Linked DNA regions of Homo sapiens: all the other regions are linked to region 1. The links are contacts of gene promoters, found by promoter capture Hi-C in blood cells and fetal thymus (Javierre and others, 2016). All regions are on one chromosome and are shown on one strand. Each heading gives the region's core, a stretch centred on a gene start or on the middle of the fragment in contact. The rest is flanking DNA. Distances are from core to core; before and after follow the strand shown.

Region 1 (7,258 bases), core at 2,798-5,297:
TGGGTGCTGTTTTGCTAAGAGCCTGTGTTTGCTGAGCTCTATGTGTCAGGTGCTCCGTTTGCACCTGTCATCTCTTGTCATCCTCCCAACAGCCTTGCAGAGTAGAAATTATTTCTAGTATACCCAGTTTACAGGTAAGGGAGCTGTGCCCTCTGAAAGGGCAGGAAACTGGTTCAAAGCAACGGAGTTCAGTCACTCCTGCAAGGGGGCAGGCAGATGAGAGAGCATTCTGGAGTCTTGCTAGTTCCTGATTTCCATGTGTTTCCCTGCTGTGGAGAGGAAGTTGGGGGGACTCAGTAGGGCCCGGGTTTTTCCCAAGTTTACAACTTCTGCTGCAGACAGACACTCCTGTTTTCAGGTGGAGTGGCAAGTGCCCTAGTGGTGGCACAGTGGCCTAAGTCTCCAGAGAAAAGGGGGATTCACTCTGCCCAGGGGGTCTCAAAAGGCTTCCTGGGGGAGATGCTCTGCTGGGTCTTGAAGGAGGAGCAGGGAAAGTAGGCCGATACCAGCAAGGGCGCAAAGCAAGGAGAACTAAGTGACAGCCAGAAAGGAGTGCAGGCTTGGAGGGGGCGCGGAGCCAGAGGGGCAGGTCCTGGGCGTGGGAGCTGGTGGCGGGCGCCGTGGGAAGACCCCCCCAGCGCCCTGTCTCCGTCTCCCTAGGTCTCCTGGGCCGCCGTGACGCTACTGCTGCTGCTGCTGCTGCTGCCGCCCGCGCTGTTGTCGTCCGGGGCGGCTGCACAGCCCCTGCCCGACTGCTGTCGTCAAAAGACTTGCTCTTGCCGCCTCTACGAGCTGCTGCACGGCGCGGGCAATCACGCGGCCGGCATCCTCACGCTGGGCAAGCGGAGGTCCGGGCCCCCGGGCCTCCAGGGTCGGCTGCAGCGCCTCCTGCAGGCCAGCGGCAACCACGCCGCGGGCATCCTGACCATGGGCCGCCGCGCAGGCGCAGAGCCAGCGCCGCGCCCCTGCCTCGGGCGCCGCTGTTCCGCCCCGGCCGCCGCCTCCGTCGCGCCCGGAGGACAGTCCGGGATCTGAGTCGTTCTTCGGGCCCTGTCCTGGCCCAGGCCTCTGCCCTCTGCCCACCCAGCGTCAGCCCCCAGAAAAAAGGCAATAAAGACGAGTCTCCATTCGTGTGACTGGTCTCTGTTCCTGTGCGGTCGCGTCCTGCCCATCCGGGGTGGCAAAGCGTCTTGCGGAGGACAGCTGGGCCTGGAAGCCCGGCTGTCGGGCACCAGCCTTAGCTTTTGCGTGGTTGAATCGGAAACACTCTTGGTTGGGGAGTTCCCAGTGCAAGGCCCTGGGGCACAGAGAGAACTGCACAGGTGCATGCTTGGATCGGGCCATGCGGGACTCCTACGATGCTCTGCTAGGCATTCTGTAGCGGGGACTTTACCCAGAGACGCGGAAGGGGAAGGAAAGCAAGAAAGGTTGCAGCGGTCGGGCGCGGTGCTCACGCCTGTAATCCCAGCACTTTGGGAGGCCAAAGCAGGAGGATCCCTTGAAGCAAGGAGTTCGAGACGAGCCTAGGCAACATAGTGAGTGAGACATCTCTCCAAAAAGTTTTTTTAATTAGCGGGGTATGGTGGGCGAGAGGATTGCTTGAGCCCAGGAGTTTGAGTTTGAGCCATAATTGGGCCACTGCACTCCAGCCTGGGCAACAGAAGGAGGCACTGTCAAAAAAAAAAAAAAAAGAAAGAAAAAGAAAAAAGAAAAGAAAGAAAGGAAAGAAAGGAAGGAAGGAAGGAAGGAAGGAAGGAAGGAAGGAAGGAAGGAAGGCAGGCAAGCTGCATAGAGCAGCAGAATCCAGCTAGGAAGGGGTGGGAGTCAATCCTGCTGAAAAGGCAGGGAATTTGAACTTCAACAATGAGTCATCCAGAATGGCTGCATCATGGGGTATAGGGTGTGGGGAGTGGAGAGGCTCAGGAAGGGACACAGTTACAGTCAGTGCAGCACAGCTCGCAAAGGCTCTCACAAATCATCGGGCTTTGCACTTTATCTTGTAGGTAACAGAGTCATGGGACATTCTTAAGCAGGGGCAGTACAAGATTTTACTGCAACTCCAGCCAAAGACACCTGTTACTGGTGTTCCCAAAATCCATATGTTGAAGTCCGTACCCGTGGCACTTCAGAATGTGGCTGTATTTGGAAATAAGGTCCTTCCAGATGCAATTAGTTAAGATGAGGTCATACTAGAGTAGGGTGGGCCTCTAATCCACTGTGACTGGCGTCCTTATAAAAAAGGGAATTGGAACACAGAAACACACACAGGGAGAACCCATGTGAACATGAAGGTAGAGATTGGCTCCTACAAGCCAAGGAACACCAAAAATTGCCAGCACCCCCACCCCCAGAAGATAGGGGAGAGGCATGCAACAGATTCTCCCTCATAGCCTTCAGAAGGAACCAACGCTCTTCACCTGACCTTGCTTGGACTTCTAGCATCCAGAACTGTGAGACAATAGGTTTCTGTTGTTTGAGCCACTCACTTTGTGGTACTTTGTTATGGCAGTCCTAGGAAACTAATATAACATCCAAAAGTAGAGACACAGGCTAGGCTCCGTGGCTCATGCCTGTAATCCCAGCACTTTGGGAGGCTGAGGCGGGCGGATCACTTGAGGTCAGGAGTTCAAGACCAGCCTGGCAAACATGGCGAAACCCCATCTCTACTAAAAATACAAAAATTAGCCGGGCATTGTAATGCACGCCTGTGATCCCAGCTACTAAGGAGGCTGAGGCGGGAGAATTGCTTGAACCCAGGAGGCAGAGGTTGCAGTGAGCTGAGGTCATGCCACTGCACTCCAGCCTGGGCAACAGAGCAAGACTCCGTCTCAAAAACAACAAGAACAAGAACAACAAGAACAACAACAACAACAAAAGTAGAGACACAGAAAAATGTGGCACTTCTTAGCAATCTAACATCCCAGATAATACCTAGCTCAGAGGGTGGGGAGAATTTAGCCTGCCCTCCTTGCCCATAGGGTTCCCACTTTCACTGCTTCAGCTGTTTTGTCGTGGGAAGCAGCCACCCTCAGCCACAGAACTCAGCTGCCTCAATTTTCTGCATAGGTAGTGAGAAAGTCCTGTGTCTAGTCTCACTTTGGTCCCTCTTGCTGCTGTACTGGTTCCATCTTGGAGAAGTTAGAGGTCAAAGTTCACATGTGCATCCTTGGAGATTTGCAAGCCATGACTCTGCCCACCTCGAAACTATCTTTTTCAGAGGTAGTTTCTCCCAAACTTGCCTCCAGCCTCTCTTCCACTTGAAGGGCAGCAGAGAGGAGGATTAAGACAGTAGGAAGAGGGAAAACAGGCAGGCAACTGCCCTTCAAGACACTTATTTTGTACCAAAGACATGCATTATGGTATTACATTCTCACGGTAACTGCATCAGGTAAGAATTATCAGCTCCATTTTACAGATGAGGAAAGTGGGCTTGGAGAGGATATCACACGATTGGTGTCTAGAGCTGGGACTCTACCTGGTGGACTCCAAAGCTCTTTTCATTCCACCATGCTGTGTCTCAGTAGGCAGAGTTCGCCAGGGTGTCTTGGGAAAACTGAGGCAGGAGGTAAGAATGGTGCTTTCTAGAGTTGGGGTTTCAAGCCTTCCCATTGTCCATTCTCTACCAGCAAACTAGCCTCTTAACCCTTGCTGTCTCACGCTGGAGCTACTGGCCTGTGGGTGCTGCGAAATATGTCAACTCCAGTAGGCGGCACTGTGAACCAGACACCAGCCCAGCGTGGACGCCGCGCGGGAAAACCCGCGAGGTGGAGCCACAAGGAGCAGCCAGGGAACCACGTGTGGAGGCGTGGCCAGCCTGGAAGAGGGCGGGTCTGTTATTCAAGCCCCGCCCATCATTTCAGGCCTCCCCTCCCGGTGGGCGTGCCCCGAATTCTCTCCCCGAGAGACACGCGTGGGCCGCTCCCCTCTGGGAGGAGGGCTGCCCAGAGGGGTGCGGGTGTCGCTAGCGGCCCCTCCCCGTGTGGGGCCACGTGGCGGGTGCGGGCCGAGCCCGAGGGGAAGAACCTGGCCCGTGGGGAGGTGGGGGGGACCGAAACGGCGCTGAGCCGAGCCGAGAGCTACGGGGTTCGGAGCAGAGGCAGCGGCAGCGGCAGCGGCAGTAAGAGGGAGGGGAGGAGGCAGGAGGGCGCATGGGGCGCCCCGGCCCCTCCGACAGCGCGCCCCCTCCGGCCCGGCCGCGCTGAAAGCTCCCCAGCGCCGCGCCTTGAACCCACGCCCCGGGGCCATGCCGGTCATGAAGGGGTTGCTGGCCCCGCAAAACACCTTCCTGGACACCATCGCCACCCGTTTTGACGGAACGCGTGAGTGGGACGGAGGTCGGGGCTTGAGGTTCGAGCTGGGGGGCAAGTATCCTCGGGGCCGTCTCGGATCTCCTGGACATGGTGAGACCCGAGGCGAGGGGAGAGAATGGAGGTGCGGGTCTAGGAACTCCCAAAGCCGCGGTGCAGGAACAGGGCGGGGAGTGCCCTGCGAGGGGAGGAGGGGAAAGGGCCGAGAGCACGGGGGCCAAGGTTAGGGGGTGTGACTCGAGGCAGAAGAGGCTCTTTGTGCGGCAGAGCGGAGGAGGGTCCTTCGGAGCCGCCCACTCTCGGGCAGAGCTGTGCTGGGGGCGTGTATGGGGGTATCCGAGACACAGAAGTGGGGCAAAGTGGCCGGGCATTCTGGGGTCTACTCACAGACTCCAGCTCCCACTACCTCCAGAAAAAAAGGAGAAAAGATCAGACTTCAGCAGGACCTAGTTTGGATTGAGGTCGCGCGCCCCCAAATCGTGGGGCGTCAGTGTCTAAGGTGGGTGAGGCAGGAGGAGGGGAGCGGTCTGTGCGACGGTGGGAACTCCCAGCTCGCCCAACGTAGCTTGGGTTTCAGGTTCAGCACCTTGGACAGCCACATCACTCCTCCCCCGCCTCTTCTCCCGCCATTCCCTCTTCCCACTCTGGAACCCAGAGATTCCCCGCCCTCACCTCCCCCAACCCCGCCATTCCCTCGGGAACCCTGGCCGGGATCTGGATGGTGGGGGAGCGGTACCCGAGGGCGGAAACTGAGCCGCCGGGCCCTACCCTCTTCCCCACCACCTTGTTTCCATAGCGCCCATCACCGGGGCAACAGGCCCTGGGATGGAAGAAGGAGGCTGTGCCCAGAGCCCAGTGCCTCCCAGGCACCTTCAGTGTCCCCATCAGCCTCCCTGCCCCCAGACAGTCATCCCTCCTAGAGCACCAGGACTGGTTGTGTCACAGGCCCCATCTCTTAGCTGAGTCTCTGTCCCTGGATGGCCCACAGGAGTCCCCCTGGCCTCCCACCCATTGGAGCTGGAGGGAGACAGCTCGGGTTCTGCTGCTGGGGGTTGCTGGAGCTATACGCTCAATGCCCTCTCCCATTAGACTTTGAGCAGTGGGGCAGATCCCCTGAAAGCAGCTACAAGAATGCTAAAAAGTGGACCTTCTCTGGAAGGCAGGGAAGGAAGACAGCACTCATCACTGTCTGCCCCCACACTAAGGAGATCTGTGAGTTTGGATAATCTCTGCCTTTTGGTTTCCTATCAATAAATGGGTGTGGTGTCATCAGAATCTCTGCCCTGCTTACTCTGTAATAGGAAGAAAGCCAAGTGAATGTGGGGAAAAAATTTCACCTTCTCAGAGTAGCACTTACCATGTGCTAGGACTTGTTCTCCCCAAGTTAACTCATGTAACTCTCACAACGACCATGTGAGGAAGGCCTATTATGCCCTACTTTGCAAATAAGGAAAGCTTAGGCACAGAAGAGGTCATCAACTTGCCCAAGGTCACACAGTTAGTAAGTGGCAGTGGAGGGTTGCAGGAGCCCAGGCTCTTACTCACCATGCTATACTGCCTTCTACAGTGACAGCTCACCAGTTGGAAGGCAGGGGGATGGATGGCATGACCTCCTGGGGTCCTTCTCCAACTCCCCGTTAGACCCTGCTTAAGTCCTGTCTCAAGTCCTTGTCTCTTTGCTCCAACTTCTCCAATTCTCAATTCAGAATATCCCAAAGTGGGGTCAGGAGCAACATGGAAACCTGGGAAGCTTCTGGCTCTGTGACTTCTAACCCCAACTTAGAGGAAGTGCTGCCCACCTGGAAGCTAGCTCGCCTCCCAGCCTTGACCTGACCTTGACCTCTTCTTCCCACAGACAGCAACTTCCTGCTGGCCAACGCACAGGGCACACGGGGCTTTCCCATCGTCTACTGCTCCGACGGCTTCTGCGAGCTCACAGGCTACGGTCGCACCGAGGTCATGCAGAAGACCTGCAGCTGCCGTTTCCTCTACGGCCCAGAGACCAGTGAGCCAGCCCTGCAGCGTCTGCACAAAGCCCTGGAGGGCCACCAGGAGCACCGGGCTGAAATCTGCTTCTACCGCAAGGATGGTGAGGGGGCTCACCCCACCCTGCAGCTCTGCCTAGACCCCTAGCCTTATCCAGAGGGCACTGGGCACAGTAGGAGTCTGAGTGCTTGTCCCCACACTGCCAAAAGCTGACTGTGACGGAGCGTATCCCTGACCTCTCTGGTCCTGGGTTCCCCCATTTGAAAGATGAAGGAATCGGCTGACAGAATCTCTGAGGTTCCTTTTGGTTCTTGCTTTGCCAAGCTCTTAACTATGTCTAGGAGGATGAGAGGGATGAGGAGAAAGGCATGCCATGGGGCTGCCCATGCTCCTCCCTTCCCTCTCTCCATGCCTACAGGCTCAGCCTTTTGGTGCCTCCTGGACATGATGCCCATCAAGAATGAGATGGGGGAGGTCGTGCTGTTCCTCTTTTCCTTCAAGGATATCACTCAGAGTGGAAGCCCAGGACTTGGCCCCCAAGGAGGCCGCGGGGACAGTAATCACGGTAACAGCAAGTCCGGACGGGCAGTGTGAATGGTCAGAAGCCTTCGCCTAACCAGCCGCAAGGGATGTGCCCCAACGTATCTCTGCACCTTTCTTCCCAACAGAAAACTCCCTTGGTAGAAGGGGAGCCACCTGGAAATTTCGGTCTGCCAGAAGACGGAGCCGTACTGTCCTACACCGACTGACCGGCCACTTTGGCCGCCGGGGCCAGGGAGGCATGAAGGCCAATAATGTGAGTCCCACCCCCAACCCAACATCTCCCAAGTCCTCCAGCCTTGATTCTGAGGCACCCCTGCCACTGTCTCCCCACTTCCCTGTCTGTCTGGTGTCCCTCCTTGGCTTGCTCCTCTGCCCACCCATTTCCCATATACTACTCTATATGGTATATGCTCCATCCTATA
Region 2 (7,258 bases), core at 2,301-4,800, 250 kb before region 1:
CAACAAATAGTCCAGCTTGTTTCATTTATATCCCATCTACTTCCGCCAGAATTATTGTGAATCAAATCTTAGATGTGATATCATATCATCTGTAAATACTTCAGTATATATCTCAAAAATGTACGAATTTTTTAAAAACATAACCACAATGCTGCTATCATACTTAAATTTTTTTTTTTTTTGAGATAGGGTCTCACTCTGTCGCTCAGGCTGGAGTGCAGTGGCACAAGCCCAGCTCATTGCAGCCTCCACCTCCCAGGCTCAAGCCATTCTCCCGCCTCAAAAAAATAAATAAATAAATACAAAGATTAGTGAGTGGGTTGAGTTGTTACTTTGATATAATAGAGTTCCCCACAATTTTCTGCCTAATAGTTTTAGCGGGCATTAATGATCATTAGCTCATTTTTTCACTAGAGGCTACAAAATAGTGACATTTTAATCCATCATTCCTTCTTTATTTATGAGCTGAAATTATTTTATAAATAAGTGCTTTCCTTCACCCAGCCGCTATTTGGTTACACAGAGGTACAATCCAAACAGAAAAGGTAAGATTTTTTTTTTTTTTTGGAACAGAGTTTCACTCTTGTCCACCAGGCTAGAGTGCAATGGAGTGATCACTGCAACCTCTGCCTCCTGGGCCCAAGTGATTCTCCTGCCTCAGTCTCCCGAATAGCTGGGATTACAGGTGTGCACAAGCACGCCCGGCTAATTTTGGTATTTTTAGTAGACACAAGGCTTCACCATGTTGGCCAGGCTGGTCTTAAACTCCTGACCTCAAGTGATCCTCTTGCCTCGGCCTCCCAAAGTGTTAGGATTACAGGCATGAGCCACTTCATCCGGCCAGAAAAGGTAGGATTAATGCTTCATTGATTCTCTTTATTTGCCAATTTGTTTGTTTGTTTGAGACAGAGTCTTGCTCTGTCACCCAGGCTGGGATACAGTGGCGTGATCTCAGCTCACTGCAACCTCTACCTCCCGGGTTCAAGTGATTCTCCTGCCTCAGCCTCCCAAGTAGCTGGGACTACAGGCATGCGCCACCACACCCGGCTAGTTTTTGTATTTTTTGGTAGAGACAGGGTTTCACCATGTTGGCCAGGGTGATCTTGAACTCCTGACCTCAAATGATCCGCCTGCCTTGGCCTCCCAAAGTGCTGGAATTACAGGCGTGAGCCACTGCACCCAGCCAAAATTGTAATATTTTAGACTCCTCCTTCTCCTTCAGTATCTACATGTACTCATTCATCAAGCCCTAATGGTTTTCATGCTATAGTGCTCACCCATCAGTCCTCTCTCTGTGCCCCGTAATGCTCTAGTTCAAATGATCATCTTCCCCTGCTGGGACTATTGCAGTAGTCTCCTGTTAGATCTCCTTTTTTCTAGTCCCAGCACCTTCCAAACTATCATTTACAGTTTTTCAAATCAATTTTCATTCTAAAATGCATTATGAATTGGAAGGAAAAGGTTGGAGACACAGAGACAAACTAGGAAAGTACAGTAACAGCCATCAGCTGGTAACAACAGGATCAGACAGACAGTCACAGAAATGGGAATTACAGGGGAGTGATAATGAAGGAAGGAAGGCAGGATCTGGGATTTCATTTGCTTTAGTAGATGAGAGAAAGAGAGGAGATAAATATAATTCTAAGGTTGGAGTCTCTGGTGTTTGATAGGACGGTCCCACCATCAACAGAAATAAGCCAAGAAGCATTCTAGCTTTTGAGGAAAGATATTTGGTTTAGGCGGGGCATGGTGGCTCACGCCTGTAATCCCAGCACTTTGGAAGGCTGAGGTGGGTGGATTATGAGGTCAGGAGTTCGAGACCAGCCTGACCAACATGGTGAAACCCCGTCTCTACTAAAAATACAAAAATTAGCCAGACGTGGTCATGCGCACCTGTAATCCCAGCTACTCGGGAGGCTTAAGCAGGAGAATTGCTTGAACCCAGGGGGCAGAGGTTGCAGTGAGCCGAGATTGTGCCACTGTATTCCAGCCTGGGTGACAGAGCAAGACTCCGTCTAAAAAAAAAATTAGCCTGTTGTGACCAGTAGTCCAAGCTACTTGGGAGGCTGAGGAAGGAGGATGGCTAGAGACCAGTAGTTTGAGGTTGCAGTGAGCCATGATTGTGCCATTGCACACCAGCTTGGGCAACAGGGAGACTGTCTCTTAAAAAAACAAAAAAATGGAAACAACTCAAACGTCCATCAGCTGATGAATGGATAAACAGCATGGGGCATATTTATACAACGGAATATAGCCATAAAGAGGAATGAAGTATTGATACATGCTACAACATAGATCAACCTTGAAAACATGCTAAGTAAAAGAAGCGAGACACAAAAGGCTACAAATTGTATGATTCCATTCATATGAAGTGTTCAGAACAGGAAAATCTATAGAGACTTAAAACTTACTGGTTGCTAGGGGACAGGGAAGAGAGGAGTGGGGAGTGACAGCTAATGGGTATGAGGTAACAGTGGTGAATTTCACCTGAGCCCTGTGCTCTTGGAAAACATCCAAGGTTAAAGGAATCCCCTATGTTTTTGTTTACTGCCAAGAACCACCCTTCCCCATGTGACTCGCAGATGCCCCCCATTGTTTACCTGTGACAGGAACAGACACAGAACTTCAAATTCTTATTCTCTGCCTCATGAATGACCAGCTAAACTGGTTTTCCCAACACTGATCACGATGAACAAAATGCTCATTAAACAAATTTTGTTGGTTCAGCGTGGTGGCTCACACCTGTAATCTCAGCACTTTGGGAGGCCAAGGTGGGCAGATCACCTGAGGTCAGGAGTTCAAGGCCAGCCTGGCCAACATAGTGAAACCCGTTTCTACAAAAATACAAAAATTAGCCGGGCATGATGGCGTGTGTCTGTAATCCCAGTTACTCAGGAGGCTGAGGTGGGAGAATCACTTGAACCCGGGAGGCGGAGGTTGCAGTGAGCCGAGATCACGCCATTGTACTCCAGCCTGGGTGACAGAGTGAGACTCCGTCTCAAAAATAAATAAATAAATAAAAGGCTGGGCTCGGTGGCTTAAGCCTGTAATCTGAAGTTGGGACTTCGAGACCAGGCTGACCAACATGGAGAAACCCTGTCTCTACTAAAAATACAAAAAATTAGCCGGGCATGGTGGCGCATGCCTGTAATCCCAGCTACTCGGGAGGCTGAGGCAGGAGAATCTCTTAAACCTGGGAGGCGGAGGTTGCTATGAGCCAAGATAGCGCCAGTGCACTCCAACCTGGACAACAAGAGCGAAACTCCGTTTCAAAAAAAAAAAATAACACATTTTGTTTAAGCTTTTCTTCTTCCTCCAGGCCCTGAACTCTGGCCCACCCTCACTGGGCCTGAGCCAGCACACAACCCCTCCTGAGGATAGCCTGACCTCAGGGTAAAACATTCTCTGATCTATTCTCTCATCAGGCCACTTTCCTCCTATTCTCTACACCTGGTTCTTTCTAGCTTTGTTTACTCCTCTCTATAAAAGGAAAAAGGTCTGGCCCTTAAGACATTTGCAGAACTATGGGCCGATCCTTCTCCCTATTGCAATAGACTCCCTCCCCGTATTGCAACAGTCTTTTTCCCCTCCTTGCAAACATTCTTTAGGATAAAGTCTCCCTTTAGTGTTTTTTCTTTGTCGGGGGCTTTCTGGGGGCTGATGAAAGTTGATTCTTGCACAACATTGTGAATATGGTAAAATCTATTCAATTGTATGCTTTAGGTGAATTGTGTGGTATGTGAATTCTACCTCAATAAAGTTATATTGTTTAACCTTTTAAAGCAGTATTAAAAGCTTTTTTTTTTTTTTTGTCCAAATGTACCAGTTTATGCTTGTAATCCCAACACTTTGGGAAGCCGAGCCTAGGAGTTTGAAACCAGCCTGGGAAACAGCGAGATCCCATCTCTACGACAATTTTTGAAAATTAGCTGGGTACAGTGGCTCATGCCTGTAACCCCAGCACTTTGGAAGGCTGAGGCAGGCGGATCGCTTGAGCTCAGGAGTTCAAGACCAGCCTGGAGAACATAGTGAGACCTTGTCTCTACAAAAATACAAAAGTAAGTCAGGTGTGGTGGTGCATGCCTGTAGTCCCAGCTACTTGGGAGGCTGAGGTAGGAGGATTGCTTGAGCCTGGGAGGTTGAGGCTGCAGTAAGCTGTGATCATGCCACTGCACTCCAGCCTGGGCAACAGAACAAGACCCTGTTTCAATATAAATAAATAAATAAAGCTATTTAAAAAAAGAAAATGAAAGGAAGAAAAAATAAGCTAGCAAATGGGACAAGTAAATAAAAATAGTACAGTGTCCAAGGCTAAGAGGGAAGAATCTCAAAGATAAATTGGTCAGCAGTGCTAAATCAGAGTTCAAATAAAATTAGAAAAGGCTGGGTGTGGTGGCTCATGCCTGTAATCCCAACAGTTTGGAGGCAAAGGCAGGAGCTTAGGAGTTTGAGACCAGCCTGGGCAACAACATAAAAAAAGAAGAAAGAAAGAAAGAAAAGGAGAAACAATTGGTGGAATCTAGGGTTTCTTAGTTTTGCTTTTTTTTTTGAGACAGGTTCTCACTCTGTCACCCAGGCTGGAGTGCAGTGGTGCGATCTTGGCTCACTGCAGCCTCTGCCCCCTGGGCTCAAGCAATCCTCCCACCTCAGCCTCCCGAGTTGCTGGGACCACAGGCACACGCTGCCATGCCTGGCTAATTTTTGTATTTTTAGTAGAGACGGGGTTTTACCACTTTGCCCACGCTGGTAAAACTGTATGTATTTTGCTTTATTTTCTGCAGCCCCCTTCTCCTGTTTTTTTGTATTTTCTGTTTGTTAGCCTGAATCACTGCTTCTCTGAAACTAAAATTCCCACTCCACAGCAAAAGTGCTGGTTGTGTCCTTTGGATGGTTTCTAGCACCAAACTATGCATAAATTAGCACTTAATAAATAATTTTGACTGTTTTCTGGTTCAGGGAAGTTACCCTATATATTAATATTTGAAGGCAAAGAAAGGAAGGGATTTTGAGAAAGAGAAACATACAAATATTATAGGCATTTTTCATATATGTATATCAGAGAGACAAGAATAGTGCCTATAAAACTGGCAAAAAAAAAATCACTGTTGTTTGTGGCAGCTGTGAGCCAGCTGCTGAGGGCTAGCCTCCCATGTGAGACGGTTGTCCCAATGTGAAGACACATCATTTGTCCCAGCTGTTTATTATTAACAAAACACACAGTCTCCCTGGGATCTCTCCCAGCACAGATCCAAAACTGAACAGAACATATTACATATTACACCCTTTGCTGGATCTCCCTAAATGTAAACTGATAAGACTTATGGCAGAACCATGATAAGAGGAGATGAGCAGTGCTTGGCTATTCCCCAGTGCCCTTTCACACCGCAAGATACTGGGTTTGGGAGGGGGTCCTTTCCCCCTCCTTTGTACCTACCCTCACCTGTGAACCCTTCCCCACTCTTCCTGAGAGTAGTGACTGCTTTCCCTATGCTGGGGGGGAGCTTTCAGCTGTGTCAGACACTATGCATCTGGCCAGGTGCAGAGTTTCACACCTGTAATGCCAGCACTTTGGGAGGCCGAGGTGAACAGATCACTTGAGCCCAGGAGTTCAAGAGTGGCCTGGGAAATATGGCAAAACCCCATCTCTACAAAAAAAAAAAAAAAAAAAAAATTTAGCCAGGTGTAGTGGCATACAGCTGTAGTCCCAACTACATGGGAGGCTGATAGGAGGCTCACCTGAGCTCAGGAAGTCGAGGCTGCAACAAGCTGAGATCGCACCACTGCACTCAAGCCTGGACAACAGAATGTGACTTTGTCTTTAAAAAAAAAAAAAATGCTGGGGGTGGCCAGGCGTGGTGTCTCATGCCTGTAATCCCAGCACTTTGGGTGGATCACCTGAGATCAGGTGTTTGAGACCAGCCTGGCCAACATGGTAAAACCCATCTCTACTCAAAATACAAAAATTAGCTGGGCATGGTGCTGTGTGCCTGTAATCCCGGCTACTCAGGAGGCTGAGGCAGGAGAATCACTTGAACCCGGGAGGCGGAGGTTGCAGTGAGCCAAGATCGCGCCACTGCAGTCCAGCCTGGCAACACAGCGAGACTCCGTCTCAAAAAAAAAAAAAAGGCCGGGTGCAGTGGCTCACGCCAATAATCCCAGCACTTTGGGAGGCCGAAGCAGGCGGGTCACCTGAGATCAGGAGTTCAAGACCAGCCATGGCCAACATGGCGAAACCCCAACTCTATAAAAATTAGCCAGATGTGGTGGTGGGTGCCTGTGATCCCAGGTACTTGGGAAGCTGAGGGAGGAGAATCTGGGAGGCAGAGGTTGCAGTGAGCTGAGATGGCGCCACTGTACTCCAGCCTGGGCAACAGTGAGACTCCGTCTCAAAAAAAAAAAAAAAAAAAAAAGGACTAGACTTGATTTATCCTCATTAAAGTCCCTAGCCCAGTAAATGGCTAGTGCGAAGTAGTCATGTTTTATTGAACAAGTAGATGGATGGAAGAATACGATAGAGCACCCTGTAAGATTCTAACTGCTGACATGTTGCATCCTGGTGTCCTTTTTCTGGGCCAAAGGGGTTGTTTGCTTTTACCTCACTATCCCTTTTATGGATTCTGTCTCAGTGGCTGAAAGCACACAATGGAACAGTGTGCCTTTCAGCAAGCAAATAGAGTGAGCAATGGAAAATGCAAACCAACAACCCTGAATGCAGGCAATGGCATGCTGAATGCAGTTACAAATGAAGAGAAACTGCTTATTTTCACTGGAATGGAGTGAAATGCTCTGGAAAGGACTGCTCTGCTCCAGTTTGCGGCATCTGTGCTGGTGGAGCTAGTACAATATGCCTCAGCATGCCCCCTGTTGGACTTAGCTGGCATTTAGTAAGAAAAGGAATGTGAGAGAAACTTGTTGATGCAGATTTTTCTCCAACATAGGCATGCAGGGGTAGGGCCCTTTTACAGAAATCATCCATTAAGGAGGCATTAAATGAGTCAGAGATGTATTCACTGGACTACCCCTGGGACATAACTTGACTCATCCACAAATTCTGACATTCCTGTTTGAAGAAGTGGTATAGAAATACTTTCCTGATGAGGCTGGGCACAGTGGCCCATTCCTGTAATCCCAGCACTTCAGGAGGCCAAGACGGGAGGATCACTTGAGCCCAGGAGTTCAAGACCAGCCTAGGCAACGTGGCAAAACCCCATGGCTGGGACTCTGTCTCTACAAGAAATTTAAAAATTAGCCAGGTGTG
Region 3 (7,258 bases), core at 1,818-4,317, 190 kb after region 1:
AGTGAAGATGTTTCTGGAGTCCCTGATGAAGAGCCTTATTTGTTTTCTTCTTCCCTACAGGTTGTTTTCTGCATGGACCGTGCCCTAGAATTTGCCCCTGCCTGCCATCGCTTCAAAATCCTCAAGGCAGAATGTTTAGCAATGCTGGGTCGTTATCCAGAAGCACAGTCTGTGGCTAGGTATGCAGTCAGGCTAGCTGGACATTAAAATGCCAGATACCATTGGACTGATGGTGTCCGGCAGCTTCACCACAGGATATGGTCCCCAGAGTAGGCCAGCTAGGGCTGATCAGACCCTCTTGGGACTTAAAGTCAAAGATTAGACCAGCTTTGAAAACCCGTAGGGTATACAGGAGTATAGTAGTATAGCAGGTACTTGAGCTATATATGAAAGAACAGATTGTGTTTTTGTGGTTTTGTTTGTTTGTTTAAGGTAGTCCTTTTCCTTCTACTCCACTGGTTGGCACACTTTCTGCAAAGGGCCAGATTTTAGCCTTTGCAGGCCACAGGGTCTCTGTTGCAACTAACTCAACTCTGCCATTGCAGTGCAAAGGTTGCCCTAGATAATAGATGAACCAATGGGTGTGGCTGTTTGAATAGTGTTTTATTTACAAAAACCAGTGGCAGAAAGGATTTGGCCCTGTGGGCTGTAGTTTGCCAAACCCTGTTCTAGTTTAATAAGGATTGTAAGACACAAGATGTGTATTAAAGATAATTATAGGTGGTTTATTTGGGGAAAGTTTGGGAACAGTTCTTGGGAATCTGTCTACCTTTGGATATTTTGAATGCTAGACACATGGTCAAGGAGGAAAACTGGCCACAAATGGTAGTAATGGTGGGGACATTCTAAAGCACAGCTCAATGTGCCCTTTTCTGACTATTGCAGTGACATTCTACGAATGGATTCCACCAATGCAGATGCTCTGTATGTACGAGGTCTTTGCCTTTATTACGAAGATTGTATTGAGAAGGCAGTTCAGTTTTTCGTACAGGCTCTCAGGATGGCTCCTGACCACGAGAAGGCCTGCATTGCCTGCAGAGTAAGTTCTAGTCACCAGACCTAACTGGGAAAGAGCTTCCTTTTGGGACCTTTAAGATGGCTAGAGTGGAAGGTTTTAGAATCACAAGGAATGTGATAGCTTTTCCTCCTGCTTTGCAAGGATGCTTGGTCTTTATTAGAAATGGTTTCAGGACTACTTGTATTTACCTAAAGGTAGATGTGATCATATAGGGTCGGATGCCTTTAATATCTAAGAGGGTTTTTTTGTTTTGTTTTTCCCCTCAGTGAAGATAGATAGTAATACTTGTCCTGAGAAGTGAAGGCAGACCCAGTAACATAGGTCTCATTGGTATTTTTGGTAACTCTTTTCCTGTCCACTCTGTAGGAAGCTCAAATGAGCAACAGATAGCCCAGATTGGGGGTTGGCGGGGCTCTGTGATGCTGAACTGCTGGAAGCAAAGAACTTGAAAATAGAGTCTGGCCTCTCTGTGCAATGGTCTGAGGCTTTGTGGATATGAACCGATCCTCCCCTTGCTTTTTTCTGTAGAATGCCAAAGCACTCAAAGCAAAGAAAGAAGATGGGAATAAAGCATTTAAGGAAGGAAATTACAAACTAGCATATGAACTGTACACAGAAGCCCTGGGGATAGACCCCAACAATATAAAAACAAATGCTAAACTCTACTGTAATCGGGGTACGGTTAATTCCAAGGTAAGCTCTTGATCTAGATCTTGGGGCCTATAGAAATATTTTTAAGGGACATCAAAGGGTCTTGGGAAATCTGCCTAGTGAGGGTAAGCAAGATGAAAGAGGGAAAGTTGTTATGGTTAATAGTTTGTTAGGAACTCCCTTCCAAGAGGCAAGCTTTTGTCATCTCTATGGAATTTGAGGGCAGTTGGACAATTTGCAAGGATATTCTCACCTGTTCATTAAGGTCCCTTTCCTCCAGTAAGAGAATGGCTAGGGTCTGTGGGATAATCTTAAGCACCTACTGTTGCTTTTTTGTTGTTTTGCTTATGCAAGTGATCATTTATTTTTTAGGAGTGATTTGGAGGAAGAGTATGAGGCAAGCTTGTTTTTCTCCAGTGTAATTGATGGTCACCATGCATGGTTGAAAATGGCCTGAGTGCTTTTGTGGCCCTACCCAACATCAGAAACAAAAAGTAGACTCCTTGCCCTTGCAGAATTCTAGCAGTTAAAAATCAGAGTGATTTCTGATCCCTGCAGGTGACCTCTGGAAAAAAGGAGGGCAGGAACCAGCCTTACTATTTTCATGTTTTCATTGGGCACTAACATGGAATGGTAAAGGTAGTTTATCCTTGAAGACAGATGTGCCTGGCTTGTATCATATACAAGAGAAATCAATTTTGAAGTTGCTGTCCATAGCCCTGGTGACAAAGAACTAGAACTTAATATGACATTTAAGGGGCCAGCATGACTGATCCTCTTAGAGTTTTGAAGCCATGCTCACAGCTTCTGGGCTCCCTCAGTCACCAAAGGTGTGAAGTATGATTGCTCTCTCTCTCCTGAAGCTTAGGAAACTAGATGATGCAATAGAAGACTGCACAAATGCAGTGAAGCTTGATGACACTTACATAAAAGCCTACTTGAGAAGAGCTCAGTGGTAAGTGCCTCTGATGGGTAGGGGGAAGAGGGAGTTGCCGCTGGCCTCAGGGGAATTGCCTTGTGGATGACGAAGCAGACCCAGAGATGTTGTGAGGTCATTTGGTCCTTCCCCCTGCCTCTAGGTGGGATTGTTCCAGCCCTAGACTATCTTTATAGACCTCCAGCGGAGGAGATTGCACAAGCTCCCTCAGTCTCCCATGCCTGTGTCTAACGCCCCTCACGGTCAGTAAGTTTCCTCTGATGCCTGACCCAAATTCCTTTTGTTAAAAAGTTTAAATCCATTTCCTTTGGAGATTTTATTTTGTGTTGTACACTTATGCTCTACCCTGGCACAGTGCTTGACACATAGGTGCTCACTGAATAAATGTTTTGTTGAATGAATGTATGGTGCTTGGAAGAGAAAACAACTCTTGGAGACAGTTGAGAGTTGTACTTCATCCTGTTTGTTCTGGGCGAGGGAAGACAATCTTAGAGTTGGAAGAGATGTAATCCGGCTCAGCCTCCCAGGATAAAGGAACTTCCTTTTGAAACACCCTGGATGGCTACTCTCTGCTTGAGTGTTTTGAGTGGAGGGCACTCTGTGTCTGACAGGGTGATTATGAGCCAGGATGTGCCTACCTCTAATGCTCACATTTGCCCCAGAGTCAGGGTGCTCCCTGGCATGGTTGCTCCTCTTACTCTTAGACCCACCAGCTGGTTTTCTCCAGATAGGAACAGGGCTAGGAGAAATCTTTCTCAGAAATCCATCTCTTCTGATTTCAGATTATTCTCTAGGCGGAGAAAAACTTCCCGTCTTTAAAGTTCTTAGAGAAGATGTATTTATTGTATACTAATCCTCCAGCACCTGCTCCACTCCTTATTATAAAATGTCATATCCAAAGAACAGATGCTGTCACTGATGCCTGATGAGCCAGTAGTTTAAGCTTCCTTGTCTCATCAGTGGTACAGAATATCTCATGGACTACCTCCCACTTAGTTTTCTCAAAATTATCTCACTTAAAATAGGAAAACTGCTGCTGTGTGTGATGCTTTTTTTAAAAGTGAATTTCTAAGTTGATGACTAAGTCTGTCCAACAGAAACATACAGGGAATTATAACTTCTGTGAGACTGACTGTCAGTCATTCCATCTTTGCAAACCACTGGCACACAGAAGCAGAAGCTTTGGAAGACAAAAAAAGCACCCTTTGATTCAGCCAAAGACTGACTTTAACAGACGCAAAATGCTATATACATGAAGGTGTTTGCTGCAATTTTATCTATAATAGCAAAAAAAAAAAAAAAAAAAGGCGGGGGGAGAATCACCTACATGTCCAGTGGGAAGGGGGTGGCTAGATACTTGATACTGTATGAACTTAATGGAATGCTCTGTATATGGAATGCCAGGGGATGGGAAGAGAAGAGAAAAATCGCTTTGTTTTATTTTTTGGGATGGAGTCTCGCTATGTCGCTCGGGATGGAGTCTCGCTATGTCGCTCAGGCTGGAGTGCAGTAGCACCGTACTGGCTCACTGCAACCTCCACCTCCTGAGTTCAAGCGAATTTCCTGCTTCAGCCTCCGAAGTAGCTGAGATTACCGGCGCATGTCACCACACCCAGCAAATTTTTGTATTTTTATTGGAGATGGGGTTTCATCATGTTGGCCAGGCTGTTCTCAAACTCCTGATGACAAGTGATCTGCCTGTCTTGGCCTCCCAAAGTTCTGGAATTACCAGCAGGTGTGAGCCACCGCGCCCGGCCTTTTTTTTTTTTTTTTTTTTTTTTTTTTTTTTAAGCAAGCCCCCAACACCATAGAAAATTCTTGATTTGCTCGGAGGATAATTGGATGAAGGATTATTTTCTTCTTTGTTTATGTGCAAGAAATGAAAATAAGGAATTGCTTTGATCAGACAACTTCTTATCTTTGTGGTAGAAACAGAACTGCCCTTCTTGGAGTGGCTCTGCCTCTGAGATCACTACAGGGGAGACAGCATGCCCTGTTCAGCTGGCTGAATATTTGGCAACAATCTCCTGAAGCAGCTGGAATTGACAAGAAGTACTGGAGATTAGCTCGGGCCAAACCCTTACATCTGGCCTGACTACTGCTGCAGTCTGCCTCAACTTACCCCTAAAGCTGGGGAGATGCCACCCACCCACATCTTTGCTACACATGCCATCATGAGCTAGAGTTCACCCTTTCTCCTTAAAGCCCTATTTACTTTTCTACTTCAACTTTAAAACAAAATTAAAATGTGAGGATATCCCTGAATTTTAAAAAGCATGAAGTAAAAATGCAAATTAGTATAGTTTGTTTAATACATTACATATAGACCTAAAGAAAGTTCATCAGGGTTAATCATTTGTCACATCATTCTATACCCAGGGCTATCAGCTATCAATTTTCCTTTTTTTTTTTTTTTTAATTCAGGATCCAGCTCTGTCACCCAGGCTGGAGTGCAGTATCAAAGTATCATTTCTCTTACTTCAAATTATTACATTTTATTCTGTACATTGATTCTGAACTCCTAATATAATATTTATGTCCTGTATTTGCAGGCCATTGGTTTTTTTAAAGTCATAAATCAAAATGATGCCAGAAAATCAAAGATGCCCAAGATGTTGGGCTTCTCTTTTGCCAGCCACATTGGTAGCACTCTCCTGCCCTGGCCTCCAAGCTGGTGGGGATCTGTGATGTTTGTGAAAATGGGCTTATGCCAGGCGCAGTGGCTCACGCCTATAATCCCAGCACTTTGGGAGGCCGAGGCGGGCAGATCGGTTCAGGTCAGGAGATCGAGACCAGCCTGGCCAACATGGTGAAACCCCATCTCTACTAAAAATACAAAAAATTAGCCAGGTGTGGTGGCACATGCCTGTAATCCCAGCTACTCAGGAGGCTGAGGCAGGAGAATCACTTGAAACCTGGGAGGCGGAGGTTGCAGTGAGCAGAGATCGTGCCATTACACTCCAGCCTGGGCTACAGAGTGAGACTCTGTGTCAAAAAAAAAAAAGAAAGAAAATGGGCTTGTGTGGTAGCAGGTAAGAAATTGAATCTCTGTTGTACAGCAGCTAGCTGTACTGCATGATCACTTCCCATTCCCCAGCTGACAGTGGCTGTCTCTGGAACTCCTACCACAGTCTTCAATTGGTAGGCCAGCCCTGGTGCCAGTGATTTTATCTGGGCATGGAAAATGCCACTTGCTTCTGTGGAAGAGACACTTAAAAGATCTGGCAGTCGGCCGGGTGCGGTGGCTCACGCCTATAATCCCAACACTCTGGGAGGTCAAGGCAGGCGGATCACGAGGTCAGGAGATGGAGACCATCCTGGCTAACACGGTGAAACCCTGTCTCTACTAAAAAAAAAAATAAAAAATTAGCTGGGCGAGGTGGCGGGCGCCTGTAGTCCCAGCTACTCTGGAGGCTGAGGCAGGAGAATGGCGTGAACCCAGGAGGCGGAGCTTGCAGTGATCCGAGATCACACCACTGCACTGCAGTCTGGGCAACAGAGCGAGACTCCATCTCAAAAAAAAAAAAAAAAAAAAAAGATCTCGCAATCATCCTGTCAAGCTTGATTCCTCCGATCTTGGGCCAAGGGCCCCTCCTTTCTTTTGTGCTACTGAAATAGAAGCAAACCTGTGTTTAGAGTTCCCTTTTCTGTCTCATTTACCTGCATCTCTCATTGATTGGTCTTAGTGGAGGGATTTGCCAGCAGCTGCCACGTTGAACTTGATCCTTTTAGTGGCTCACTAATCCCACCTCTATTCTGGATTGTAGCTAGTCCTGCATGTTTATGGCACTATAGGTTTCAAAGCTCTTTCATACCCATTTATTCACTTGATAATTTTTCTCTTGTGTGTTTCAACCCAAAGTAATCAAGTAGATCCCTTCACATTGTCTTTTCTAAGGCAGTCCAGTACCTCTTAGGTGGCTGTGTGTCAGAAGGAACTTTTTCCTCTTGATTACTTTCTGCTCAAAGCTGAACATCACTTTGCTGGTTGGATGCAAGTGCCATGCGACCTCTCTTTTTATTTCCTTGAGGACTTGTTAGCTAATTTTCTCTCACTGCTAGATTAAGGGCTCCTGTTTCTGAAGCATCTTACCAGAAGTGTGTGTCTCTTGCTTGAGCCATGCCTCTTGCCCTAGAGTGATCCTGAGAACCACTGCTATTTATGTCTTAGTGCTGTATTGCCTTGTATTTCCTTCTCAGTTACATGGACACAGAACAGTATGAAGAAGCAGTACGAGACTATGAAAAAGTATACCAGACAGAGAAAACAAAAGGTAAGTTTAAAAGCATTTGTTTTTTAGGGAACTGTGTGGACTTCGTAGGCCATAAATCTGTACACAAGGTAGTTTGATTCAGGGATCAGGGATCTACCTAGAACTTATTTGATCACCAGCCAGAAAGAAGTGAACAAAGGCTGGGCGTGGTGGCTCACGCCTGTAATCCCCAGCACTTTGGGAGGCTGAGGCAGGCAGATCACCTGAGATCAGGAGTTGGAGACCAGACTGGCCAACATGGTGAAACCCCATCTCTACTGAAAATACAAAAAATTGTGGGTATGGTGGTATACGCCTGTAATCCCAGCCACTCAGGAGGCTGGGGCACGAGAATTCCTTGAACCCAGGAGGCGGAGGTTGCAGTGAGCTAAGATTGCG
Region 4 (4,785 bases), core at 338-2,837, 130 kb before region 1:
TTGATGGCTTGTGTGTGTGTGTTTTGTTCTTTTTTTTTTTTCCATTGTGTCTTGTCAACCCCCCGTTTCCCCTCCTGCTGCCCCCCATTTCCTACAGAACGACCTGCAGCAATACCATTGACCTGCCGATGTCCCCCCGCACTTTAGATTCATTGATGCAGTTTGGAAATAATGGTGAAGGTGCTGAACCCTCAGCAGGAGGGCAGTTTGGTGAGTATTTGGTTGACAGACTTTGTCCCTATAAGGGAAGTTGGTCCCCTTTGTGTGATGCTCTCACATGTACACACCGAGAGCTGGTCACTCGGAATGGTAGGAGATTCTAGAGCTTTGCTTTCCAAAAGAGATGGTATGAATGCCACATGTGTGAGTATAAATCTTCTAGCAGCCACACTGGAAATAGACGAACTTAATTTTTACAATATATTTTATTTAACCCACTAAATCCAACATACTCTCAATTTAACATTTCAGAAAAAGTTGAGGCTGGGTGAGTGGCTCATGCCTGTAATCCCAGCACTTTGGGAGGCCGAGGTGGGTGGATCACTTGAGGTCAGGAGTTCGAGACCAGTCTGACCAAAATCTCTAAAATATAAAAATTAGCTGGGCATGGTGGCGCATACCTGTAATCCCAGCTACTCAAGAAGCTGAGGTGGGAGGATCGCTTGAGCCTGGGAGGTGGAGGTTGCAGTGAGCAGAGATCGTGCCACTGCACTCCAGCCTGGGCGACAGAGTGAGACTCCATCTCAAATAAACAAAACTAAACTAAAAAGAAAAAGTTGAGACCTTTTTTTATTCTTTTTTTTCATACTAAGCCTTTAAAATCCAGTGGGCTTTTGACAGCCACAGCACAGCTCAGTTTGGACAAACCAAATCTCAAATGCTTGGTGGCCACGTGTGTCTCGGGGCTCCTGAATTAAACAGTAGATCAAGGGCAGAAGATCTCAGGACAGCCTTAGAGCTTCTGTAAACATGGAGCTCTGGGAATCAGTTAAGGTGGGAATGAGAAAGGACCCTTCCCGAGGCAGGGTCCTCCAGGGAGGAGGGTAAATCTGGCTTTTCTGACCATCCCTGGGCCTTAAGGGGCAGGAGATTGGATAGCAGTGGTAGCCTGGGCCCTGTCCTCTGAAGGGCTGGGGGCGTGGCCTGCCAGTTGCAGAGGGTGGACAACTGAACTAGTTTTCCCTGTCTGTCCCTCCAGAGTCCCTCACCTTTGACATGGAGTTGACCTCGGAGTGCGCTACCTCCCCCATGTGAGGAGCTGAGAACGGAAGCTGCAGAAAGATACGACTGAGGCGCCTACCTGCATTCTGCCACCCCTCACACAGCCAAACCCCAGATCATCTGAAACTACTAACTTTGTGGTTCCAGATTTTTTTTAATCTCCTACTTCTGCTATCTTTGAGCAATCTGGGCACTTTTAAAAATAGAGAAATGAGTGAATGTGGGTGATCTGCTTTTATCTAAATGCAAATAAGGATGTGTTCTCTGAGACCCATGATCAGGGGATGTGGCGGGGGGTGGCTAGAGGGAGAAAAAGGAAATGTCTTGTGTTGTTTTGTTCCCCTGCCCTCCTTTCTCAGCAGCTTTTTGTTATTGTTGTTGTTGTTCTTAGACAAGTGCCTCCTGGTGCCTGCGGCATCCTTCTGCCTGTTTCTGTAAGCAAATGCCACAGGCCACCTATAGCTACATACTCCTGGCATTGCACTTTTTAACCTTGCTGACATCCAAATAGAAGATAGGACTATCTAAGCCCTAGGTTTCTTTTTAAATTAAGAAATAATAACAATTAAAGGGCAAAAAACACTGTATCAGCATAGCCTTTCTGTATTTAAGAAACTTAAGCAGCCGGGCATGGTGGCTCACGCCTGTAATCCCAGCACTTTGGGAGGCCGAGGCGGATCATAAGGTCAGGAGATCAAGACCATCCTGGCTAACACGGTGAAACCCCGTCTCTACTAAAAGTACAAAAAATTAGCTGGGTGTGGTGGTGGGCGCCTGTAGTCCCAGCTACTCGGGAGGCTGAGGCAGGAGAATCGCTTGAACCTGAGAGGCGGAGGTTGCAGTGAGCCAAAATTGCACCACTGCACACTGCACTCCATCCTGGGCGACAGTCTGAGACTCTGTCTCAAAAAAAAAAAAAAAAAAAAGAAACTTCAGTTAACAGCCTCCTTGGTGCTTTAAGCATTCAGCTTCCTTCAGGCTGGTAATTTATATAATCCCTGAAACGGGCTTCAGGTCAAACCCTTAAGACATCTGAAGCTGCAACCTGGCCTTTGGTGTTGAAATAGGAAGGTTTAAGGAGAATCTAAGCATTTTAGACTTTTTTTTATAAATAGACTTATTTTCCTTTGTAATGTATTGGCCTTTTAGTGAGTAAGGCTGGGCAGAGGGTGCTTACAACCTTGACTCCCTTTCTCCCTGGACTTGATCTGCTGTTTCAGAGGCTAGGTTGTTTCTGTGGGTGCCTTATCAGGGCTGGGATACTTCTGATTCTGGCTTCCTTCCTGCCCCACCCTCCCGACCCCAGTCCCCCTGATCCTGCTAGAGGCATGTCTCCTTGCGTGTCTAAAGGTCCCTCATCCTGTTTGTTTTAGGAATCCTGGTCTCAGGACCTCATGGAAGAAGAGGGGGAGAGAGTTACAGGTTGGACATGATGCACACTATGGGGCCCCAGCGACGTGTCTGGTTGAGCTCAGGGAATATGGTTCTTAGCCAGTTTCTTGGTGATATCCAGTGGCACTTGTAATGGCGTCTTCATTCAGTTCATGCAGGGCAAAGGCTTACTGATAAACTTGAGTCTGCCCTCGTATGAGGGTGTATACCTGGCCTCCCTCTGAGGCTGGTGACTCCTCCCTGCTGGGGCCCCACAGGTGAGGCAGAACAGCTAGAGGGCCTCCCCGCCTGCCCGCCTTGGCTGGCTAGCTCGCCTCTCCTGTGCGTATGGGAACACCTAGCACGTGCTGGATGGGCTGCCTCTGACTCAGAGGCATGGCCGGATTTGGCAACTCAAAACCACCTTGCCTCAGCTGATCAGAGTTTCTGTGGAATTCTGTTTGTTAAATCAAATTAGCTGGTCTCTGAATTAAGGGGGAGACGACCTTCTCTAAGATGAACAGGGTTCGCCCCAGTCCTCCTGCCTGGAGACAGTTGATGTGTCATGCAGAGCTCTTACTTCTCCAGCAACACTCTTCAGTACATAATAAGCTTAACTGATAAACAGAATATTTAGAAAGGTGAGACTTGGGCTTACCATTGGGTTTAAATCATAGGGACCTAGGGCGAGGGTTCAGGGCTTCTCTGGAGCAGATATTGTCAAGTTCATGGCCTTAGGTAGCATGTATCTGGTCTTAACTCTGATTGTAGCAAAAGTTCTGAGAGGAGCTGAGCCCTGTTGTGGCCCATTAAAGAACAGGGTCCTCAGGCCCTGCCCGCTTCCTGTCCACTGCCCCCTCCCCATCCCCAGCCCAGCCGAGGGAATCCCGTGGGTTGCTTACCTACCTATAAGGTGGTTTATAAGCTGCTGTCCTGGCCACTGCATTCAAATTCCAATGTGTACTTCATAGTGTAAAAATTTATATTATTGTGAGGTTTTTTGTCTTTTTTTTTTTTTTTTTTTTTTGGTATATTGCTGTATCTACTTTAACTTCCAGAAATAAACGTTATATAGGAACCGTCTGATAGCATGGCAGCTCTGTTTGGCTGGTGGAGGCTTCCTTTTCCCCTGCATAAGTTCTGAGGGGGCCTCACACACAGGTGGGGCCTGGGATAAGGGCCGGAAAGGGTCTTGAGAGGAGGTGGTTGCCTTAATCCCCCCCGCCAACCCCCTTATGTTAGCCACCAGCCCGGAGGTAAGGGGTGCCTGGAGGAGCAGGAGGTCAATAGTCCAACGGCAGAAAGGTGTCAGAGTGGAGGCCTCCCTCCCCGGCCCCCTCCTACCCCCCAGAGCGGCCTCGTCCTGTCTGGGGTCAGATAAGCCACCTAAGCGGGGTGGGGGGTAGATACTCCCACCGCACCAAGGCCTCCCCTTCCACAGTTGGCTCCTTTATCACTTTCCCTTCAGTTCACCCAGCGGGGACAACACGCAGACACCCGGTGGTGGCTGCAGGGCCCCCGGCAGCCAGCGGTGATAATGCAGGGAAAGGCGCCCCAACCTCAGCTACGCGGGCGCCCACAGGGCTTCTCCCCACCCCTACACGTGCCCCAGCGCCCTGGAGACCGCGCCTGGGAGCTACGAGCGAGCACCTTCCCTCGCAGAGATGGATCAGATTAGCCCCCTGGGGCGGTGGCACCTGCCCGTCCCCTCCCCTCCTCTCTTCTCCCACCCCCGCCTTCCCCCTGCTCTGGGCCCCCTGCACCTCCCTCTTGGGGCCCACGCGCCGCCCCTCTCCCTCGCTTGAGCTCTGAGCTCAGAAGGAACCTGCCCGCAAACCTGGCTCCCAGCCCCGCCCAGGGAGCGCGCGTCCCTGAGCCCAAGGGCCCCAGCGACAGCAGGGACTGGCTGCAGCCGGCAGTGCGGGGGTCCAGCCGGGGCGAGCCGGTCCCGCTTGCTGCACCTCCGCCTCGCACAGTCGCCGGCAGCCAGCTGAAAACAGCGCAGCCGCGTGGTGCCACCTGCTGGTCTCTGGGAAGGAGGAGGATGGGACGGTTGTTGCGGCTCTGGGACTGCCCCTGGCCCCGAGGGTTGAGAAGCATCTTGGCGCCGGGCCCTCAGCCGCCAGCTTCGAGGCTGCTGGGAGCAGCAGCTGCTAAGGAGAAGCCTGGGTCAGAGTTCTGCCCACCCGCGCC

What was found. The method cuts DNA at HindIII sites, captures the fragments that hold promoters and counts their contacts. A CHiCAGO score of 5 or more calls a contact.
Region 2: a fragment that was not itself captured here is called in contact with the fragment with the promoter of KCNH4 in region 1 in 1 of 17 cell types (activated CD4 T cells); the score reaches 6.1 in activated CD4 T cells.
Region 3: a contact is called between a fragment that was not itself captured here and the fragment with the promoter of KCNH4 in region 1, in 2 of 17 cell types (endothelial precursors and monocytes). The highest score is 5.6, in endothelial precursors.
Region 4: a fragment that was not itself captured here is called in contact with the fragment with the promoter of KCNH4 in region 1 in 1 of 17 cell types (activated CD4 T cells); the score reaches 5.7 in activated CD4 T cells.

What each region holds. Positions count from the first base shown.
Region 1 is chr17:42,177,931-42,185,188 of GRCh38, reverse strand. KCNH4 (potassium voltage-gated channel subfamily H member 4) reads left to right here and starts at 4,047. Exons shown (of 17, transcript NM_012285.3): 1 at 4,047-4,319; 2 at 6,163-6,396; 3 at 6,712-6,858; 4 at 6,962-7,089. The coding sequence starts at 4,244. HCRT (hypocretin neuropeptide precursor) reads left to right here. Exons shown (of 2, transcript NM_001524.1): 2 at 661-1,129. The coding sequence ends at 1,035. RefSeq lists enhancers at 161-962, 1,464-1,523, 5,087-5,654, 6,305-6,806 and silencers at 814-1,033, 3,616-3,891, 3,898-4,137. The HindIII fragment of the contact is 8,013 bases long and covers 1-5,764 here.
Region 2 is chr17:42,428,189-42,435,446 of GRCh38, reverse strand. All of the region lies in intron 2 of LOC102725238 (a long non-coding RNA gene), which reads right to left. Among named protein-coding and RNA genes, the nearest start is that of CAVIN1, 8.6 kb to the right of the region's middle. The HindIII fragment of the contact is 494 bases long and covers 3,304-3,797 here.
Region 3 is chr17:41,983,185-41,990,442 of GRCh38, reverse strand. It overlaps DNAJC7 (DnaJ heat shock protein family (Hsp40) member C7), which reads left to right. Exons shown (of 14, transcript NM_003315.4): 6 at 61-179; 7 at 886-1,039; 8 at 1,547-1,711; 9 at 2,533-2,624; 10 at 6,807-6,880. Among named protein-coding and RNA genes, the nearest start is that of CNP, 20 kb to the right of the region's middle. RefSeq lists enhancers at 1,498-1,998, 1,999-2,499. The HindIII fragment of the contact is 969 bases long and covers 2,583-3,551 here.
Region 4 is chr17:42,312,214-42,316,998 of GRCh38, reverse strand. STAT3 (signal transducer and activator of transcription 3) reads left to right here. Exons shown (of 24, transcript NM_139276.3): 23 at 98-210; 24 at 1,199-3,675. The coding sequence ends at 1,254. Among named protein-coding and RNA genes, the nearest start is that of STAT5A, 26 kb to the right of the region's middle. RefSeq lists silencers at 4,217-4,376, 4,497-4,596, 4,667-4,785. The HindIII fragment of the contact is 3,238 bases long and covers 1-3,206 here.